Linked DNA regions of Homo sapiens: regions 1 and 2 are each linked to region 3. Evidence: promoter capture Hi-C in human tissues and cell types (Jung and others, 2019). All regions are on one chromosome and are shown on one strand. The core of a region is centred on a gene start or on the middle of the fragment in contact, and the rest is flanking DNA. Distances in the headings are between cores, read along the strand shown. Region 1 overlaps ABCC12 (ATP binding cassette subfamily C member 12). Region 2 has its middle 91 kb from the start of LINC02134. Region 3 holds the start of VPS35 (VPS35 retromer complex component).

What was found. Contacts are between HindIII fragments. The study calls those that stand out against the background at their distance.
Region 1: a contact is called between a fragment that was not itself captured here and the fragment with the promoter of VPS35 in region 3, in 1 of the 25 tissues and cell types used here (lymphoblastoid cells).
Region 2: a fragment that was not itself captured here is called in contact with the fragment with the promoter of VPS35 in region 3 in 1 of the 25 tissues and cell types used here (lymphoblastoid cells).

The regions. Positions count from the first base shown.
Region 1 is chr16:48,111,491-48,115,108 of GRCh38, reverse strand. ABCC12 (ATP binding cassette subfamily C member 12) reads left to right here. Exons shown (of 31, transcript NM_001393797.1): 16 at 3,199-3,333; 17 at 3,447-3,531; 18 at 3,602-3,618. Among named protein-coding and RNA genes, the nearest start is that of ABCC12, 43 kb to the left of the region's middle. The HindIII fragment of the contact is 3,050 bases long and covers 126-3,175 here.
Region 2 is chr16:48,054,417-48,058,111 of GRCh38, reverse strand. No RefSeq gene overlaps it. Among named protein-coding and RNA genes, the nearest start is that of LINC02134, 91 kb to the right of the region's middle. The HindIII fragment of the contact is 6,796 bases long and covers 1-3,695 here.
Region 3 is chr16:46,686,876-46,690,582 of GRCh38, reverse strand. VPS35 (VPS35 retromer complex component) reads left to right here and starts at 1,405. Exons shown (of 17, transcript NM_018206.6): 1 at 1,405-1,452. The coding sequence starts at 1,450. It overlaps ORC6 (origin recognition complex subunit 6), which reads right to left and starts at 924. Exons shown (of 7, transcript NM_014321.4): 1 at 813-924. The coding sequence starts at 877. RefSeq lists enhancers at 101-170, 221-300, 538-1,236, 1,237-1,934 and silencers at 641-940, 1,261-1,500, 1,651-1,700. The HindIII fragment of the contact is 11,418 bases long and covers 1-3,707 here.

The sequences.
Region 1 (3,618 bases), core at 401-2,900, 1.4 Mb before region 3:
GGTAAGATGGGGAGCCAGGGAAAACAATGACGGCCCCACCCTTACTCCAGCAATTCTGGGCAAGCCTGAGGCCAGGGATACCTTGACTGGGGGTGTCAGGGGGTGGTAGACCTCTTGGATGAGGGGCCCAGATGCCCCAGGTATCACACCCCAGGGGAAAGGGGCTTGAAGCCAGGACTTTGGGACTAAGGCTGAGGCTTTGGGGAAGCTCTCTCTGCTCAGGGCCACTGTCTCAGGCTAAGGAGCATGAATCTCACTGAAGAAAGCGACTGGGCTTGACCTCAGTGAATTTAAGAATTTGGCAGAGTGGGAACAGCCCTCACTGCATTGGTCTCACATAAGGCGTCCTGATTGCCTGATGGGAATCCAAGAACCTCCTCCTCCCAGGCCAGGTTTCCCTGCTTCCAGACCATCTCCCTCTCTCTTCTTTGTAGGGAATCCCCAGAGATGTGTGGGGGAAGGGGGGGCAGTGCATGTGTGTGCACGTGTGTGTTCATGCGTGCACGTGGGTGTCTCCTTGCCCGACGAGAGATTCCTTGGGATTGACTTATGTTGAAAGGCCTATTGGAGCAGGAGAGCAAGTGTCCCGTCTTCTTTACTCTCCTGCTACCTGCAGAGAACATGTTACATAAGGGCCTGGTCTGGGGGCAGGAAGCAGGTCTTTGCAAAGGTAAGTCAAGCTGGGGTGGAGAGGGAGGGGCAATAGCAGCAAATAAAGTTGCCATGGCTATAGGATGCTGCAGCCAGCATTTTAGGACCCTCCAGTAGTGGCCAGGAGGACCAGCCTAAAGAGGGTGTTCCTCGAAGACCCTGTAAAACCAAGCTTTCCCATTGCTGTGATGCTGCCCCTAGCCTGAGCTCACCTTTGCCCAGGGCTAGAGTTCTGGTCCCGGAATAAGCTCCAGGCATCCGAATTTTGCGCATGGGGATTGTCTGGATTTCCTCTGAGTGGGCCTGAGCACCTCCAGGAAGCATCATGCTGGGCTGGTGTGGGCAAGAGCTCCTAGTTCTTCTTCTGGCCTAGTTCTTCTTCTGAGTTAGGATGGAGGACAAGGTTGGATTTCTTCAAGACCCTCATGAGGTGACAGAATGGGCTCTGGCCCAGTCTGGATGCTAAACCTGGCAGCCCTAGCTCTGCACCTGGAATATCCCTGGAGACACCCTGCAGCAGGGAGGGCTGTCCTCCAAGGGCTCTGGGGATCTGGAGGGGGATGCCTCATCCCTGACAGATGTGGGTCATGGCTGTCCCTCCAGGAGTCCTCATGAGGGGAATCATAACCTTGGTCCTGGTTCGGTCTTTGAAACTGACTGAGCCGCAGTATGACCTCAGGCAGGAGCCATCTTCACACCAGGTCCATCTCCTTAGATTCCACCTTCCCGTGTCATTTTATCCAACTTTTTGCAAGTTGGAAGAGGCAGGTAGCCACCAGGTGGCACAAGATCTTGGTCCTGCTGTGCCTTGTCAGGGAGAATGGAACTTAGAGCCCCAGAACTGCGGCCCGGGGCTTTTCCAGAGCCTATCCCCTCTGCTCTTACTCCCAGGCCCACAGGCAAGCATCTTAGTGGTTGGGGTGGATGATCGCTCTTCTAAGGAAACCACTGAAATCCAACCCAGGTGCAGATTTGGTGACGGCTTGCAGAACAAAGCTGCTCAAATCTGCCTCATATCTCTGGAGTGAACTGGGGGCTTGCTGACCAGAGGGGGCTTCCCCGGGAGCTCCTGGAGCTGGAGCGTGTGCTGTGGCTATGGGACTGGAACAGGCTTATGGTGTCTCAGTTTCCCCATCTGAAAAATCAGCTGATAAGACAGGGAGCTGGGCAGTTAGTGGGAGGGAGGCATGAGGGCTGGAGCTGTCCAAGCTGTTAGAACTGTTATCATTCAGCCTTTGGGCACCCTCCCAACTCGCCCAATCAAGTGTACAATGACCGAACACAGCTACTTCTTTCAGGCTTGTAATCAAGAGCAGCAGAGGTTGATTTGACCTTGGATGAACCGTGCAGTATCAGGGAAGACCTCTGGCCCATACTGCAAAGGCTTCTTTCGGTCAAACCATCTTTAGTCTCAGCATCTTGCCCACCTCTAGGAGGGAGCTTCCTTGATCCTGGGGGGAGAGCTCTGTGTCTCATTCCAAAATGAAAGGAAAACCCTCTTAGCAGAACTCTTTGATCTCAGGAATGATATGGAAATGAAGGGAATTCAAATTAAAAAAAACAGAAGTGCTTTGGGCAAAATGTGGGATGCCAGCATTAAATGTAGCTGTGTTTTTATCTCATAGATAAAGCTGGCATAAATTCCTCAGGCCAGGGAATGTGGCCTCTTGCCTGGAGACCACACCGTGGTCTGCTTCTCCTGGGCTAAATGGGGATGATGAGGGAGGCTTGTAATTTTAGAACACAGGAGGACCTTCGTGAAGATCATATTTCCCCTCCCTACCAAGTCCTGGCTGCTGTGACTGTCAGTTTTATTTTCCAAATCTCCATGATCAGATTTCGATTTATTTATTTAATTTTTTTGAGACAGAGTCTTGCTCTGTCATCCAGGCTGGAGTGCAGTGGCACCTTCTTGGCTCACTGCAACCTCCACCTCCTGAGTTCAAGCGATTCTCCTGCCTCAACCTCCTGAGTAGCTGGATTATAGGTGCACGCCACCATACCCAGCTACTTTTTGTATTTTTAGTAGAGATGGGGTTTCACCATGTTGGCCAGGTGGGTCTCGAACTCCTGACCTTAGGTGATCCACCCGCTTCAGCCTCCCAAAGTGCCGGGACTACAGGTGTGAGCCACTGCGCCTGGCCATGATCAGATTTCTTAGGAAGGCAGCTCATTTAAGGAGCAGTAGCAAAGGAAGATTCAGTGTTCTTTACTGTGAGAGCCAAAGGCTGGCTTTTTTTTGGACTCATGAGACCTGTGGGTACTAGATGAATGGTTCTGTGCTGGGGGCCAATCTGCCCCCAGGAGGCACTTGGCAATGTCTGGAGACATCATTGCTTGTCACACCTCCAGGAGGGGGTGCTACCGACATCTAGTGGGGTAGAGGCCAGGGAGGGTGGTAAATATCCTACAATGCACAGGACAGCCCCCTCAAACAAAGAATGATCTGGCCCCTAAAGTCAACAGTGGTAACTAAGGTTGGAGAGGAGTTTGGCATGGGCTCTCCTTTCCAGGCAGAAGTTCATTGTCGATCACTTACTTCTGCAGTTCTTAGAGTCTTGTGATGAAGTTATTTTATTAGAAGATGGAGAGATTTGTGAAAAGGGAACCCACAAGGAGTTAATGGAGGAGAGAGGGCGCTATGCAAAACTGATTCACAACCTGCGAGGATTGCAGTTCAAGGTAACTCACACCTGGGCAGGTGTGGGAACAATTGGGGCGGAATCCCTCAGGATTTCGTGCCTGGGAGAGGTCCTGTCACTTAGCATTCAGAAGGAATTTCATTTTGTCTCCAGGATCCTGAACACCTTTACAATGCAGCAATGGTGGAAGCCTTCAAGGAGAGCCCTGCTGAGAGAGAGGAAGATGCTGGTATAATCGGTTAGAATCCCATCCCTGTTATTGTCCTTGGCTTGAATGGACACAGATCTCTCTTTATTTCTCACCCTAGTTTTGGCTCCAGGAAAT
Region 2 (3,695 bases), core at 717-3,216, 1.4 Mb before region 3:
ATCACGAGGTCAGGAGATCGAGACCATCCTGGCTAACACGGTGAAACCCCGTATCCAGTAAAAATACAAAAAACTAGCCGGGCGTGGCGCCGGGCGCCTGTAGTCCCAGCTACTCGGGAGGCTGAGGCAGGAGAATGGCCTGAACCCAGGAGGCGGAGCTTGCCGTGAGCCGAGATTGCGCCACTGCACTCTAGGCTGGGTGACAGAGCGAGACTCCGTCTCAAAAAAAAAAAAAAAAAAAAATGTCATGAATGCCATGAGGATTCTCCACTCTGCCTTCCCAGGATGGCTTAATTCTCAGGCACCTTCTCCCTGTGTCGCAGCAAAGATGGCCCCTGAGCTTCATTCTGTCAGTTTAGAAATCTCAGCAGAGGCCAAGCACGGGTGGCTTACGCCTATAATCCCAGCACTGTGGGAGTCCGAGGCGGGTGGATCAGTTGAGACCAGGAGTTTGAGACCAGCCCGGCCAAACATGGTGAAACCCCGTCTCTACTAAAAATACAAAAATTAGCTGGGCGTGGTGGCACACACCTGTAATCCCAGCTACTCAGGAGGCTGAGGCGGAAGAATCCCTTGAACCCGGGAGGCGGAGGCTGCAGTGAGCCAAGATCGTGCCACCGTACTGGAGTCTGGGCGACAGAGCAAGACTCAGTCTCAAAAAAAAAAAAAAAAAAAAAAAAAAAAGAAGAAGAAGAAGAAGAAAAAGAAAAATCTCAGCAGAAAGAGAACATGTCTTTCCCAGCAGGCCAAAGCCCTCCGCCTTCCTACAACTTGTTTTTTTTTTTTTTTTTTGTAAATAAAGTTTTATTGGAACACAGCCATGCCCATTTGTTTATGTTTTGTCTATGGCTGCTTTACAGCTGCAGCCACAGAGCTGTAGTTACCATGGAGACCATATGGCCTGTAAGTCCGAAATATTTACTATTTGGTCCTTCACAGAAAAGTGTTGCCAACCCTGGCACTAGACTCTAAGGCCATAAGAAAAGAGACTTTTGTCTGTTAAATTCACGGTTGTATCCCCAGTGCTGGAAGAATGCCTGGTAGATGGTAGGCTCTCAGTAGATACTCGTAGGATGAATGAAGGGGAAGTGAACACTGGTTTGGTATAAGGAGTGGTCCTAAACCAGAAAGGGCATCAACACTTTCAGGGGATTGGCTGGAAGGGCTCGAGGAAGAGCCGAGGAGGAGAGGAGACTTGAGCAGAAGCCACGTCTCAGGAGCTCAGCAAGGACCGCAGCTCAGACAGGGTCCTGACCCCACAGGACACCGGGAAAGAGGCTAGGGAATCTGGATGTGGAGAGGACTCCAGTGAGCTCCCCAAAAGCCGTTTCAGTGGACGCAGGCTGCTGAAAGGTGAGGGGGTGGAAACAGCTAACGTGTGCCTCATTTTGGGACTTGGCTGAAGAAAACATTCAGCCACCCGCATCAGATGGAAGGGGGACAGTCTTTTTTCACATTCAAGGTTTTAGAAGTAAGGGCAGGCCATGACTGGAGGAGGCTCTGCTCTTAAAATGCCTGGGTCCCTTGGGATCAGGGCTTGAGTTAACCCGTGAGTGCCTGGACTACTCCTCCTGACATCTGTCCCTCAAACAGCTGAGAGGCACACAGCACAGAGCCCAATATCACACATAAAAACACACACAATAACCAATAAATCATCTACGGTGTCTGCATTGACTAACTCACATTTCCCTTTAGGAGCCAGAGCTTTGGGCTTTTCCCAGTGGATTTAACATCTTCTGAGTCTTTGTAATAAGCCCTGGGGGAATAGCCCTGTATGCTCTATCATAATTTAAAACAGAAAGTATAAGGGCCGTATTTCCCACCCCCCTCCCTTTTTTCCTTGCACTTAACTCAAAGTCCCCTCTGCTAACTTCATCGGAGTATATTAATTGATGTCAAAATCACCCAACTCCGTTTCAGTTGTATTTGAATCCATTTAAACATTTGCAGAGTCAATTAAAGGCAGGATCAAGAGTTAAACAGTTCTATTCTTAAGAGTCAATTCCCTCCCAGAGGAATTCTTAACGTGATGTTTTTTTCTGTGTGAGTCTGAAGTGAGTTCAGGTTGGTGAAGGAAGCACCCAGCAGTCTCAGCACTCACTAGACATCTACAAATCCATTTTCCCCTCCCTTCCCAGCCCTTCCAAAATAGGCCTGGTGCTCCACTAGCCTTTGGTTCTGGGAAGTGAGATCGTGGAGGGACTAGATTCCCTGCGGGGGAAAGCAGTCCGGGCGTAAATCCATTACCTGGGCTTAGGTGTACAAGGACTCCCTCTGGATGTTGTTTCAAATAAGCTTTTTTTTTGCATTTAGGTTTTTTTGAGAAAAGTTGTTTCAGCTGACATCCAAGCGTGTCATTTGAGGTTTTGTTAAGTCATTCCCTGGAAAGAGAGGATATTTAGCTGCTTCATAAAGGGCTCTCTCTCAAGGGTGCCATTATGATTTTCTCACCTTGGCTAGTGGCAGCTGCTTCTGGGGATGTGATAGGAGCAGAGAGGTGAACCCCTGAGTGAGGCATCCCACCTCTCACTCTTTGATGGCTGATTCTTCTCGACAAAAATCGAGTCAGAGCTGGGCCCTGGTTTCACGGGCACCCTGGACCAGAGGACTTGGGGGTGTGAAGAGAGCTCCTCCAGCTCCTACCAGCCCTCCTGCATTCTCCCCACCCCAGGGGCCCGTTGACCGGCGTGTCTTGCCTCACCCCACGCAGTGTCAGTATATGCATACGCTTGTGTGCATTCGTGTGTGCTGAAAAACCAAGAGGCTAACCTCAGCCCCTAAGAAATAAAAATCAGATCCATGAAGGTGAGCGGGGAGGGCGGAGGTGGGGGATGCTTTCGGCTCCGGTGAAGGGCTGGAGACATTTTCGGAACAGTCTTGCGTGTTCCAGCTTGTTGCCACTAGGGGCTGCTGTGGTTAGGCAGGAGTACCAAGAGCAGAGCTGTTTACGAAGAGGGAAAACGGAAAGATACAAAGCAGTGATTATTTCAGTTCATGAATAATTTTGTTATTTCAGAGGATTTGGGGAGTGCGCTTGGCCACTACCCTCATTTTGCAAGTATGTGACTTCTTTCTTACACAGTGGCCCTGCCAGGATGGCTCCATCAGAAAGTCCCCTCCGTTTGATCCGTAGACCTTGCGTTGACAGGTGCAGGCTACTAGGACGGGCACAGGCTGGGCTAGGCTCCCTGCTGCATCTCCTACACAGTTCCCAGGGAGAACGAGCGCTTGTCTCTGGAGAAGGCTTCCAAGGATGGATGGGTGTTGCATTCTCAGTTCCAAGTCTCCGGTAACAAAAGTGGAAGAGAACAAACTAGATTGAGGAGGCAAGGTATGATAGCACATTTCTCAGATTCTGTAATTCTCCATGAGACTAAGACCCAGATAAAGAACTGTCAGTGCTTCAATTTAATTCCTCTCAGCACTTATTGAGCACCTACTATATGCAGGATATCTTACTCTGCTTCCACAGTACCTATATATACTCTCTTTGGAAGAGCTGGGTTAGAAATGTGGAGGGAGTAGTAGGGATAGGGCAGAGAGGCTTTTAGAATCAGGGTCCACAGGAGCTGGGAACATAAGAAAGGCCTATAAATTGCATCTACTTAATTTACCAGGAAATAGAAAATGAATGGGGGAAACAGTGAATTAAAGGGTAGGGTGCACGCTTTATTTCCTGTGGCTAAAAAAAC
Region 3 (3,707 bases), core at 156-2,655:
AGTTACTGATCAGCAGGCTTGAGGTGGGACCCAAGAATTTGTATTTCTAACAAGTGACAAGATGATATGGCTGTTGCTGGTCCAGGAACCACATTTTGAGAACCACTGTTCTAAATGACTACCGAGTCCTGCAGGTTTGTCTTCAAATCTTTTAAGTGCTGTTTTCCTTGCCTTCCCTCGCCTGACTGCTCCACGTTTTAGCTACAATGGCTTTATTTCGAACCCCGGATCCCGCTTCCCATCTCAACGCTTTTACAGGAGCTGTCGCCCCTGCCTGGGCTGCTCTTGCCATATCTTTCCTCGCCTAGCATCTGCCATCAATCCGGCCTCAGCGGGAACGGCGCCTGCTTTTCCGAGTTTTGTTTGTTTCTTTGTGTTAAAGGCAGCCGCTAGGCCGCGCTCCACCCCAAGCCCAGTGGCTCAGGAGCATTGCCCGGTTAAGGTCTACACAGTCCTCGCCCTTACAGACAGCGGGGTCTGCGCCTCGTTGTCGGGTTCCCCGCTATAAACCCGACTGCAGTAGGCGTTGGCGGAATGAACGGAAAGTTCTCCCTGGCTCATTTTTCTACCCACGGACAGGGCTGGCTGTTCCCAGGGACGTGTGCCATCGCCGTTTGCTATCGCCCTTCTTGCCATCTCATTCAAGCTCACGGCCGAGAAGTTTTTCTTGAAGTAGGCCCTAAACCCCGCCCGGCCCCAGCGCTCCCCGTCACTCCCCCGCCGCCCGTCGCCTGGGAAGGGCGCGGGCCTCACCTGAGGGCCCAGGGCCGCGAGGCGGAAGCCCAGCCCTGGTCTTGCGCGGCCGAACTCACCTCAGCATGTCGGGCTCGGCGAGGCCCAGGCGCGGGGCTAGGCGCCCGATCAGCTCCGACCCCATGGCGCCGGCACTAAAGCGAACAATTCCCGTGAACGCCGCGGGTCAACGAAACCCGCGCGCAAAGGCTGCACCGGCCAGTGAGAGCCAGGCCCCACCCCCGGCGCATCTGGATTGGTTAGGACAGGACGTTGAGACCGTCCCACAAACCAATCAGGGTCTTCCTTTTGCGCATGCGCATCAATAGCGCAATCGCCAACGCAGATGCGGTGAACGTGGACTTGTCGGCTCCCCCTCCTTCCATTCCTTCTTGACAAACTCATCACACACTGCCTTTCCCTCCTGTTGTCTCCTGCCTGCCGCCGGGCGATCCCCACTGCCCTGCACTGCTCCGCCCACTCTCGCACGCTGTGGTGAGATTGGCTGGCGCTCAGGTCCGTCCATCTAGCGTTAAGTGACAGGGCCAATAAGCACGCGAGACTCGGGTTCCTAGAAGTAGGCCAATCAATGAGCCGCCTGTAGGGCCCGGGGGCGGGGCTAGAGAGGGCGGGGCTTGGAGGGGCCGCAGCGTCACATGACCGCGGGAGGCTACGCGCGGGGCGGGTGCTGCTTGCTGCAGGCTCTGGGGAGTCGCCATGGTGAGTGCTGAGGGGGCAGTGGCACCTGGGTCGACCCTCCTTGTAGCCCCTGCTCTCTCCCACCGCCCCGCACTCCAGCGAGTGGAGAAGGGGCCCCACAGACCGTTCGGGATTAAGACCAGCCCGATTTGGCCTGCGGGATAGGGGACAGCAGGAGGAAGGCCGCGGGCAGGCTGATCCGGGCCGGGGTGGGCGGCGGCTCTTGGCTGCGGCCGTTGCTGAGAGACGGGGCGGCCTCTCTGTGGGGTTGACTTGGCATGTAGGCTTTGGGGTCCATGAAGGCCTGCGGCCTCCTTTAAGTGGAATCGGTCACCTGCCTACCACGAGGGGACCGGTAGTCCTAGGTCTGAGCGTCTGGCCCCCGGGGCGCGTGGAGGCCCTGAGACTCGGAGGTGGCGCCGGGACCCGCCCAGATGTTGCGTTTCTACCTTTGTGCCTAGTTGTGCTCGGCCGTCCCCACGCCCTCCTGGAGGGGTCGCAGTGATTCCTTGGCCTTTCTTGGCCTCATACCCGCCTTCGGCTGCAGTGTTTGTCAGCGAGTTCTGGGGACCTGCTTACATGAATTTCCTGGAAGGACTCAGGCTGTCTTCTAATCCTGACGGTCGCAAAGGAGACTGATTGTTTACTTTAGCATTTGTGCATTGGGCGCACCTTGCCTCTTTTGTCTCGCCATTGATAAAATCCAAGTATTTGACTTGCTGGAAGCAGTACTTCTCCTTAGGGCCCGTCTATGACGGCAGCAAATCGTGGTGTGGCTGTTGGCCGGTAAACTTGAACTTCCTCAAAATGTGAATCTTTGTGTCTGGTTCCCACAAAGGCAAGTTGTCACTTGCATTTTATTAGCGTTTAACATAGCCTGCACTGTGTAAATAAATTTTTTGAGTATATACTGTATGTCCGCTTTAATTACCTTACTCACTCTGTGTAGATAGGCTTCTGTAAATCTGTAAGCCTGGAAACAGATTTCACTTTAAATGTCTTAATGCCAGAAAGGATTAAGTGTTTTACAAATACTATTTTCATATAACGTGTTGCCGTACAAGGTGATTTTGCCTGTTTCTCAGGATTTTTATAATTGGGAATTGATACAAGACCGGCGCAAAATTTAACTTTAGGATTTGTGTGTTTCCAGCGTTTATGGATTGACATTTATATTGTTTTGTAATGGAAAACACTTAATTGAGGATGTATTACACACTCCGATTCTTTGTTGGGTGAACCAGTTGGGAGCAATCAGCCAGACACACAGTCTTGTCCTCATGAATTTTATTGGGAAAGGAAACTTGAGTATTCGTTCTTTCACAGTCACTGTCTATAATTTAGGCAGCTCGCTTAGTCTTCTTGGTGTCGCACTTTTGCATCCGAAAGCAAGTGTTGGCGGCCCCTTTGGCCCTTCCCAGCCCTAAAATTCCAGAATCCACTTCAATTCATCAAACATCTTGTGTGCCTTCAGTGTCACGGACTGTGGCCCTGGGTACCAATGTCGAACTTAAGAGGCTACTGGGGGAGACACGCTTGTAGAACTTAACTGTAATACAGTGTGTGGATTGCTTTACTAACATTGTCAACTCAGTGCTTTGGGGTCATGGAGGGATAGTTTTGCCTGGGGATTTTGGGAAGGACTACAGGAAGTAACGTGAACTGAGACTATAAAGAGGGTGGAAAGAAATTCTCCAGGTGGAAAGAAAAGGTATTGCTAATAGATGAAGCCAAAACGTTCAGTGTGCTCCATCAGAGGATTCTTGGGGATATGTATTGGAAATGAAGTTAGAGCCGTTTGGTGTTCAAATTATATTTTGAAGTTGTCATGCCCTCATCATCCTTATTTCTCTCTACTTCAGTTGTCAATGTATGCCATGTCATCATTTTTAAAATAGTTCTTTCATTAACGTGATATTCTGTACCTTTGTTTGAAGAAATGAGCGTTACATTTGGTTTACATTGTACTGTCAGATTACATCTACAGCATATAAGCAGGGAGGTTGAACCACAATAGGTTTCTAACATAAGTGGAGATAATTATTTGTATCTAAACTGAATAATAATTATAGCACTTATTAAGTGCTTATTGCTAAGTAGTAGGCACGTTTTGAGCTTTGGTTTCATTTGTTCTTCATAACAGTGGTGTACTCTCATCTCTGTTTCATAGAAGAGGAAAGAAAAGCACATTGTTTCAGTGGAGAGTAGTTTTCCAAGTGATCAGTTCATGATCTTTGCTTTGCTCTGCACATTAGAACTGTAGACTTGAGAGGGCT